Linked DNA regions of Homo sapiens: region 2 is linked to region 1. The links are contacts of gene promoters, found by promoter capture Hi-C in human tissues and cell types (Jung and others, 2019). All regions are on one chromosome and are shown on one strand. Each heading gives the region's core, a stretch centred on a gene start or on the middle of the fragment in contact. The rest is flanking DNA. Distances are from core to core; before and after follow the strand shown.

Region 1 (5,149 bases), core at 904-3,403:
GAAGAGAACTAAGAGCTCATGTTTGCTTTTGGTGTCTAGATGTTCCACGGGACTCATTATTTGATAATTATCTTTTTACGTGTCTGACACCACATCTCCCATAAACTCAGTGAGGAAGGAGCACAGCCTCAGGATTCAAACCTTAACATACATGCATTCAGCATTCATTTATCCAGCAAATACAGAATGCTTAGTTGCTTTCCATATATTATCTCAACTAGTTGTACCAACAACACTTCAAAGGAAACATTAGTATCCTTATATCACGAATGAGGAAAGCTGAGACTTTGGTCAAACCACTTGTTTAAGAACAGCTGATAAAAGGCAGTGCCATGAATCATATCCAGATTGGGTTTACTCTAAAATCAGATGCTTGTGTATCGCCTTAGTCTATTTGGTGATAATTCCTGCTATATCTCCTTTCCACCTCTTGTTTGCACCTTCTCAAGCTACCTCTTTTCTCTCTCTTGCAAATATTTCCTTACTGCTTTCTTCCACTCCCTTGGACTCAGTGGTTAAAATGGGAAATGGGGTTCTTTAATCTACTAGAATCATTTCTGGGATACTAATTTTCCACCTTCTTCCCAATTCCCATTATTTGAAGTCTAGCTATATTATCTTAAAATTTTCAATACTGTTGTCTTTCATTTCTCCCAACCGAATGGCAATTTTATTTTAGCATCTGATTTACTTTCTTCTGTACCTTGTTCTCAACAATTTAATAAAGCATAAGAATGACTCTTTAGATTCCCCAAACTCTGTTTTTCAGACTTCTTGCCTTAACAGAACTTAATAGAACTGTCTGCCTATTCCTTATCACTCAGTAACAGCATTGTCACACCCTGGATTCCAATTTAGAAATCTCACAATTCTTATTATCTCTCAAATCACATTGCATCCACCAAAACGATATGTCCTACAACACCACTGTTCAGCCATTTTCTCTTAAAACTCTTTTGGCTTCTAAAAGTGAAGCATCACTTTATTTTTCTCTATCCCATTTGTCATAAGATTAAGGACTCTGAACCTATACATAAAATAATATTAAAGCCACTGGAGGCGATACATGCAAGGGCTTGGGATAAATCCAGCTTCCGTGTGAATATTTCTTCTGTAATGTGTTAATTAATTTGTTCTATAGGATGTTAAAAGGGTTTCTTTCTCACAAGCAAGGAACTCTAGATGCCCATTTCTCTGAATCTGTGCTAGCTGGGCACCCCTAGGGGGCGCTCCGTCTCTCAAAATACAAGGGGCTGACAGCAGCGTGCCTCTGGGTGAGGCTCACTCTAGGGGTGTGGCCTCACGGAGAACCTCAACCCACAAGAGTTTGGCTTAGAAACAAGTTTGAAAACCTCTTCAGGTCCAGAGCCTTTAAATAATGCCTGCTATGCGCTAAGACAGCCCTGGGTATCCAGAGTTCACAAAGCAAGGACTGATTTCCTTTCGCCTTGACAGCCTCAGCAAAAGTGGAAGGGGGTTTGCAGAATTGCACTATTAGCAGCGTCCACCCGAAGGTCTGCACAGAATTAGACTGAGCTGATTCTGGACAAAGCCCACTGTGTACCTTTATCTACTGGGCAAAAGTTACCCCCAACACCTGCTATAATCGACTCATTTTAGGAGCAAAATGTCAGGCCATGAAGCATCAGATCATTGAAAGACCCAATTAATTAGTCCAGGAAAGGAGTAATAAGAACATCTGTGATCTGAGTTCCATACTAAGACACAGAGAGACGACTGAGTTATTCTGGTGCTTGCTGTCTGAGGTCCAGACAGTACTTGTGACCCTCTTATCCTCAGAAGAGTAACCACAATTCCCTGGAGTGAAGAATATCCCAATTCACTCATGGAGTTCACTTTAGTCTCATTCTCGACCTTTGTCACCAATTGGCTAAGGCTATTTGTTTTTCCAATTCTGTATTAGGAAAAAGAAGTTGCACAGAGGATCAGACATCAGATACGTTTCTAAATTCTGCAGCTCTGGGTGGGCAGCCTCATTTGGGGAAATGCTAGCTGCTGTTTCCAAAGTGGGGAAGCCCACGGTTTCGGACACAGGGCTGACAGCGCTGCTCCAGCAGCCCCCAGGGCCAGAGGAACCCGGCCTTAGCTCCGCCCCGCTCTGCCCGGCCCCGGGTGGCTGCGATGCCGAGGTCCTCTGCTCCCGCCGGGCGTGCAGCGGGCGCGCGCGCGTGTGTTTATGTGTCTGTGTGCGTGTGTGTGTGTGTCTCTCTCTGTGTGTGTGTGAGATGAATTGGAGTCATACGACTGGGTGTTTCCTTCCGAGTGGTTTTCATCAGCAATCCATTAGGAAATCATGGAAACTTTTTTTTTCCTGGCTAAAAGGATGAAAACTGAGTAAGTACATAGAACTTTGAACTTGAGACGGAATGAAACAAATTCAAGCAAAAACCCTGACAGTAACCATGTCCATTCAAATTGCGTATGCCCTTTTTATGTTAAAAGCCGTGAATACTTACAGGACAGTGGGAATTTAAAACTAAATGAAGGGAAGCATACAAAAGGCTGAAAGCAAGACTGCTTTAAAACCGGAGGAAAATTGAGGAACTGCTAAGGCAACCTGGCCTGAGTTCAGCTGTGCAACAGGCACTTTGGGTTTTAATCTTTTGCGTTCTTCAATGCTGTTTTCAGACTCCAGATATACTTTGGTATTGTTTTCTCTCTTCCTGCAAAGCTGAGGCAGAGTCGGACTCCTTTACTGTGAGTTGAAAGATGTGAGAATAAGGCATTGCTGGAAGCAACAGTTTGGCAGCCTGGGGTACACTCAGGTTATTCGTTACAACTATTATTATTTGATGTCTTTTTTTAAACTCAGGTCATCCACTTTTGACTGTCATCCATGGAAGAGCTCTTATTAAAAGCCTCAGACTTTCGGGACCTATGATTCTTTGGCACAACCTTTTGGAAAATTCTTAAGCAGGGATGAAGCAAACTTGATTGGAGTTGGGGAAAAAGAAGACAGATTAGTATTTTTCATGCTGACAAAAAATAGCTGCTATGACTTTTCCCGCAACGTGGACAGGGGCCAAGTGAAGCTGAACTGGTCATGGTCTGTCGCCCAGTGTTCCCTTGTCGTCGGCGATTTTGCCCCCGACCCTTCTTGGTGGGCTTAGTGGTGGCAATCTGTCTCTTCTACCAGACTCTGACCCTCCGAGGGTCGAGGAAGCTCACAGCCGCTGCCCCTGGGGCTGTCCCACACACATCCACTGAAACCCAGGCAAGCAGATGCAAGAAAGGATTCTCTCAGGACAAACAGTGCTTCCTTCTCTCTGGTAATGCCCAGGAAACCAGAAAGGTAAGACTCTCATAAGCTTAACGGAGACAGTTTCTGCAAAGACAGCAATCTGCTTCTCTGTCCTTTCTATAAAACTAAAATTAACTTCCATGAGGTCTGAAAGGGATCCAGAGTGTAAACAGCCTAGAGAGTGACCTGATGACTGGGAAACACGTTACATAAGCTTCAACTTCTTATAGTTACTTCCAGAAAGTTCTGGCATTACTTTATCTCTTAGGATTTCACTTCATTTCAGTGGAATGAAGTAGACAGTTTGGAGGAGGCATAAAATGATGTGGATTCTTTCTAAAATATCAGTATTCTAAGAGATCTGAGGATTTACAATTCAAAAACATAAATCAAAGTTTCAAAAACTTTGATAAACCTTGAGTGTCTCTTTTCTCAAGGCAGTCAGTATGAGTGCCCAGACCATTCCAGACTCAAAGATTCTCCAAAGTTTCATTTTGTAACTAGCTAGATTGATTCTTAATTGGTGACCACATTTCTAAAGCAATATATTTACTTCGAAAGCATTAAAATAATAGGATAATAGGTTTCTTCAAAAGAATTGATACAATGTATTTTATTGTTTATAGGATCAGGGAAATACAGATTATTCTATATTTATACTATTCAGATAAACTTACTAATCTTACTTGTCAAATATTGAAAAAAAACACAAAAAGCACACAAAGTAACACAGGATTTCTATTTTAATATACCACTCTCCTCATGCCTATCAGTAATATAATGACCTGTAACATAGTCAAGTGTAAAACAGAACATGAAGAAATAAAAAAAAATCCATGCAAAAAAGATCATGGTGGCAAAGCTACTAAATTTTATGTTACAACAAGTAGTATTGTAGCAACAAAATAGAGGGCTCTGTAAGTAGCATCTTATATCTACAGTAGATTCTGGTCGATCTTATGATGCCGGTTACCGTTTGAAGTAGAATTTCTACTTGAACACCAGCTCCGTTGCTACCATTATTACCAAAACCTCCACGATTGACCAGCACCACTTCTTTTAAAAACTCTTTTATTTATTTCGTTTCAGACTACTGCCCTGTGAGACAGGTACAGTAGATAGGATTATTAGCATTTTATGAACAAGGAGCCTGACAGTGCCATTTAGGTAGGTCACATGGTTAGCATTATGACAAGATGCATCCCCAGAGCAATAGCTATCAAGCTGCTTGGTTCCTACTGCAGGGCTGATGCTCCAAATAAAAGTCAATTCAAAGCCCTTGTAATAATTTTTGAAACCACAACTACAAGAACTTACTGAAATACAAAATAACATTAAGTTAAAACAAGGAAAATTTTAAACTTTTAAGTGACTTCATTTGTTATCCGTAATGCCAGGAAACATCCTGACCAAGAACTATCTTATGACAAAGAATAGTAGATAATATAAGTTGAAACACTTTAAAATGAAACTGCAACTGAAATTGTACATCTATTTTTAGGCACAGTAAAGTTATTGAAGAATGTGTATTTTTGTTGTTGTTGTTCATTTATACTAGCATTAACTTTTTTCTTTTCCTGACTACATCACAGTTACAATGGATGTAAACTGTGACTGTTAAAGTCATTTCTTGTTAGTTTCAACATTGAGAAAGGCAATTTCTTAAAAAATAGTTGAGATAGTCTTGCTCTTATTTAATGCCTAAAATTTTTGCTAGGAATTTTGAATGAAAAGGTTTTATTCATGAACTTACAGCTTTCTTACTCCCCTTGTTCACTCTGTGTGATTCCTACTTTGTTTGTAATTTAGGCATATGTTAGCTGTTATTTGTGGGCTGTCATAGAAAATTCGATTTCAACTTTGAATCTCCTACTACTTATAAACCAT
Region 2 (5,149 bases), core at 1,969-4,468, 120 kb before region 1:
CATATTTCTTCTTTAAAAAGCAACCTCCTTTGATAAATATCCAGTGGCTTAGATACCTACCACAAACTAGAAGTAATTAAAAAACAAAACAAAGCATACTTTTTTTTCTTCTCAGTACCATATTCTCTTACGTCATGCCAGTGACATCTTATCACCTTTCTCTTCCTCTTTCAGACTCATCCAGTCCCTGAGTGTGGTACAGGGTGAATACTGGGTCCTAGTCACCCTTGCCCAGTCACCTTTGCCCCAGTCACCCTTGCCCAGTGCATGAGATTGACCAAAGGATTCATGCTAAGAGAGGCAAGCCAAGAGGACCTCAGGCTATTGCCTCCCTGACTCATCTCAGCTCCTAGAGTATGAGTATCATTAAGAGAAGTTTACCACTGTCCTCATCCCCATCTCCAGAGCTCTGTCTCAGAGATTTTGCCTGGGGGTAGAAGTAAGACATAAAACAGATAGCTTCTAATCTCTTTCCAGAGGAACTGATTTTATTTGCAACAAAGCATGGACAAGTATAGGAAAACAGCCAGTTGCATGGAAAGAGTGACACCATCTTGAATTAAACAACCATGATGACAGATATTTGACTCCTGTATACCAACGTATTCTACAGCAAAATGTTTAAACGATGTTTGTAGCATAGATAGCCCCTCACAGAGATGCTTTCTAATTTCCCCAGTGGTCACAAGTTTCAGCAAGAAAGTCTGAAGTGTGACCCCTGCACATGCCTTTTCCCTAAAAGCTTGCTATATACAGGATACTTTCTAGGCAGGGCGCGGTGGCTCACTCCTGTAATCCCAGCACTTGGGGAGGCCGAGGCCGGAGGATCATTTTGAGGTTGGGAGTTCGAGAACAGCCTGGTCAACATGGTGAAACCCCGTCTCTACTAAAAATACAAAAATTAGCCAGGCGTGATGGCGGGTGCCTGTAATCCCAGCTACTCAGGAGGCTGAGGCAGGAGAATCGCTTGAACCCAGGAGGTGGAGGTTGCAGTGAGCCGAGATCATGCCACTGTACTCCAGCTTGGGTGACAGAGTGAAACTCCATGTCAAAAAACAAAAAACAAAAAACAAAAAAAGAAAACAACTTTGTAGAGGGCTGGACACAGGATCAATCTTCTTGAAGCTGCCCGAGACATTTCTTTGGTTCATAAGTCCCTATTAAATATTTCTTGCTGAGAAACTGGATTTGTCAGCCTTTCTTCAGCTTTCCAACTTCCTTGGCCTTTCTGGGTAGGTTTGCATATACCTGCTTACCAGGAAACAGGAAGTTAGAGCCTAAGGCTGCTCTCAAAAACAGTGATGGTTGTGATAAAAGGCACTCCTAAATCTAATGAAGGTACAGCCTAAACCATATGGTCTAGGCTGTACCTTCATTAGATCCATGAATGAAGACAGAATCGGGGTTTTAGACAGCTGGGCAGAGTCATTCTGCAGTCAGAACAAATATCAAACACTGACCTCAGAAACTATTCCTTTGAAGAAGCTACATTTTGATTGGATTAATTTGTAGAGGAATATATGTCAGAGGCATTGTTGAAAATGATACAACAATCAGCAGGAAACTTTCATTTATTTTTTATTTATTCACAGGCACAATCATAGTGCACTTCATAGGCCTTGAAATCCTGGCCTCCTTAGTAGCTGAAACTACAGGTGCATGCCACAGCACCAAGTTAGTTAGTAGAGTTTAACAGCTGACTGTAGTCAGGAAAAGAATAGAAGAGCCTCCTATTAGGACCATTGTCATCCCAGGGTGACTGTGAAAAAAAAACAGTGCTGTGCTTCCCTACAGAGCAACCTCAGAGGCTTCACAGTATAGGAGAAAATAGATTTCACAAAAATAATATGGCCAGTTACTAAAAAAAAAAAAAAAAATAAACAAATAATAATTAGCCCCAAAGGGGAAAAGAGGACCAATATCTAGAGTTGCTAAAAATATATTATCTAAAATGTGCAGTTTCCAATAAAAAATTTCGAGGCCTGACAAAAAATAAGAAAGTATGACTCATAAAAGACCTAAAACAGACAACAGAAACTGCCTGTGACAGTGACCTGCTGTTAGATCGAACAGAAAAACATTTCAAAGTAGCCCTCATCAATATGTTCACAGGTCAAAAGAAAGCATGAGTAAAGAAGTCAAGGAATGTGTGATGGCAATGTCATATCAAATAGAAAATCTCTATACAGAGATTTAAACATTGCAAAACAGAACAAAATTCTGGAATAAAAAAGTACAAGAAGTTAAATTGAAAAATTCACTGGACAGACTCAACAGCAGATTTGAATTGGCAAAAGAATTAGCAAACTTTAAGGTAGATCAGTTGAGATTATATAGCTGAAGAACAGAGGGGAGAAAAGAATGAAGAAAAACTAACAGCACCTCAGAAAAATATTGGAACACCATTAAGTGCACTATCATACACATAACGAAAGTGCCAGGAGGACAGGAGAGAGAGAAAGATGAAAAAATATTAGAAATCATGATGACTGCAAACTTCCCATATTTATTAGAAAATAATAAAATACATGTCCAGAATGTCCTAGTGCATTTCCAGAAAGCACATAGGATAAGTGCAAAGATACTCACAAACAGACACAGCATAGAAAAATCCTAAATGTCTAAACATGAAGGAAATCTTGAAAGTCAAAAGAGGAAAATGGCATGTTCTTTACAAGGAAACCCCAATAGGCTTAACAACTGACTTCTCTGAAGAAACAAGAGAGGCCAGAAGACAGTGGGATAATATATTCAAAGGGCTCAAAGTAAAAAATAGTGAACCAAAAATTATATATCCAGTAATGCTATCTTTCAAAAATGAAGGCAAAGTAGAGTTTCCCAGACAAACAAAAAATTGAAAGAATTTGTTGCTAGCAGGCCCTCCTTATAAGAAATACAAAAGGAATTCTTCAGGCTGAAGATGATAACAGAAAGTAATTCAAATTCACACAAAGAGCACCAATAAACGTAATATTGCGTGACTCTAAATGATAATTTCAATACATATTTTTCTCTTTTCTTCTCTCAGTTGATTTAAAAGCAACTGCATAAAATTATATCTATATACTAAGAGAGAGCAAGAGAGAAAATTGTTAGGCTTATAACGTATAAAAGCATAATACATGTAAAATATATTTGCCAATAACAGTACAAAAGAAGTGAATGGGAGCAAAGTTGTAATGGTCTAAGAAATGACTACAGAGGATGAAGTAATAACTAGAAAGAAAAAGAGAGAGAAAGAAAAGAAGGAAGAGGGAAGGAAGGGAGGGAGGGAGGGAAAGGGAAATGGAAGAGATGGGAAGGGAAGGGAAGAAATAAAGGAAAAACATTGCCCATGCCTGCTTCATCTAAGTTAATAATGCCAGCCCTTATCTTTCTTAGCAGACACTTGCTAAGTTCCTGATGCCCCTCTTCTGCATGCTGAACCCCTGAAACAATCCTGATGCTGTGGACAGTATAACGGGAAGGACAAGCCCACTTGCTGCCAGGCCTTCCTAGAATCTCTTTGTCTCCCAGTTATGGCTTGCCTGCCCTATTTGCCCTACACTATCGGCCAAACACTAATTATGGGTTCCTGCCTCTACTTTCCCTGCCTAACACTGCAGTTTAGAATCCTATTTGGAATCAAAAATCTTTCCCAAATTCCATCTGCTTGGCTAAGCCTCATTACTATTCTTAATATTTCCCTCTAGAGGGTAGACCTTGCTCCCTATAATTTAGTTGTCTTCTTACTTTGCAGGAACCTGTTGAGAAGGGAGCTTTAAACCGCTATAGTGTTACCACTTGCTTAGTGACAATTTTTGAATGTTGTCTACCATCTGCCCCCACAACTATGACCACCCTTCAACACACACACACACACACACACACACACACTCTCAGTGTTGAATTTCCTTAGATACTTTGGACACTAAAACCTGCAAGAAGCAAGCCAGGGTCTGCTTTGACCTTTCTGACATGTCCCTCAAGCCCTAGAGCTGGGGTATTTTCCCAGCCCCTGCCTACATGAACCTGTGGATATTAGCATGGTTTTGTGACTTTGTTTTTGTTTTGCCTAAATGTGCCTGAATTTTAACAGTGAATACATTAAACTGTTTTCTCAGTATTAATCTCAGAGCTGATGAACGTGAGTGGCTTATAAGCTTCTCTAGTAAGTAAATTTATAATATAATTTTTTGTATCCTCACTCTCAAGATTTTGCTGATTTATTATTTTTGCTGATCATAGGTGTGCTTGCTGCAAGCTACATAGCTCTCCCCTTCCCTATCCCCTGCTCTCTTTCTTGCCAAAAGCAAAGGAACAGATTTTATAATCTACCTTGGACAGAAAATCAGGAGAACCAAGATGATAGAATAGAACTCAAAGTCAGAAGAAATACACTCTAATGAGAGTCTTGAAAAATTAATGAGCTTTAGTGTAAGGATTCTGTGATGTCTGTTTTTGCATAAGGATTTAAAGTAAAAATATTGTGTGGGTGTGTGTTTAGTCATCTATGTTTTGTGTACTTAAGGTTCTAAGATAAGTGGCTTCTGGTCATTAAAGAATTATTGAGCTAACTTTTTGAAAAAAGACTGAGAAAATATTTCAAGAAAGTTTAACTTTTAGCAGATCATTTTATTTCCAAGTCTAATTTTGTATCTGAGCTACTTCAAGTCTATAGTCAGCGAAATGACCAGTAAACTGGGAAGAAAACTAAGGTTCTAATCGGGTTTTTCCTGAGCCAGGAAACCTAGAGTGTTTAATAGCTCTCCATCCACAGGGATAAAGAGCTTTTCATTTCAAACATTCTATTAACTTATTTAATTTTATTATTATAGTTTCAATTTTGAGAAATTAGATCACATATTTAAAATTCTATCCCTTCTAGGTGGGAAAGATAATTTTTTGTGTAATTTTACAGTATCATAGACATTTTTTCAGAGGTAAAATATCCATGACCTTACAGCCTTTTCTTAAATCTAAACACTAAGTGCTAATATGGGGAATGTCCTTTAATCTTATTGATAACAGTAGTTCAGTGTTATGAAAATGACAAAGTACATCTCAATTTTTAGGGGTCAAAGTTAGGTTTATAATATTAGTTTATATATGTTGTTTGGTCAAAAAATAATAATAAAATCAAACTCCTGTTTCTAAGAGAGCTTTGGAA

Evidence for each region. Contacts are between HindIII fragments. The study calls those that stand out against the background at their distance.
Region 2: a fragment that was not itself captured here is called in contact with the fragment with the promoter of CPED1 in region 1 in 2 of the 25 tissues and cell types used here (bladder and small bowel).

Annotation. Positions count from the first base shown.
Region 1 is chr7:120,986,558-120,991,706 of GRCh38, forward strand. It overlaps CPED1 (cadherin like and PC-esterase domain containing 1), which reads left to right and starts at 2,154. Exons shown (of 23, transcript NM_024913.5): 1 at 2,154-2,355; 2 at 2,834-3,313. The coding sequence starts at 3,065. RefSeq lists an enhancer at 1,330-1,409. The HindIII fragment of the contact is 8,627 bases long and covers 1-4,516 here.
Region 2 is chr7:120,867,888-120,873,036 of GRCh38, forward strand. The region is part of intron 1 of LOC124901733 (a long non-coding RNA gene); the gene reads left to right. Among named protein-coding and RNA genes, the nearest start is that of TSPAN12, 12 kb to the left of the region's middle. RefSeq lists a silencer at 224-348. The HindIII fragment of the contact is 6,134 bases long and covers 152-5,149 here.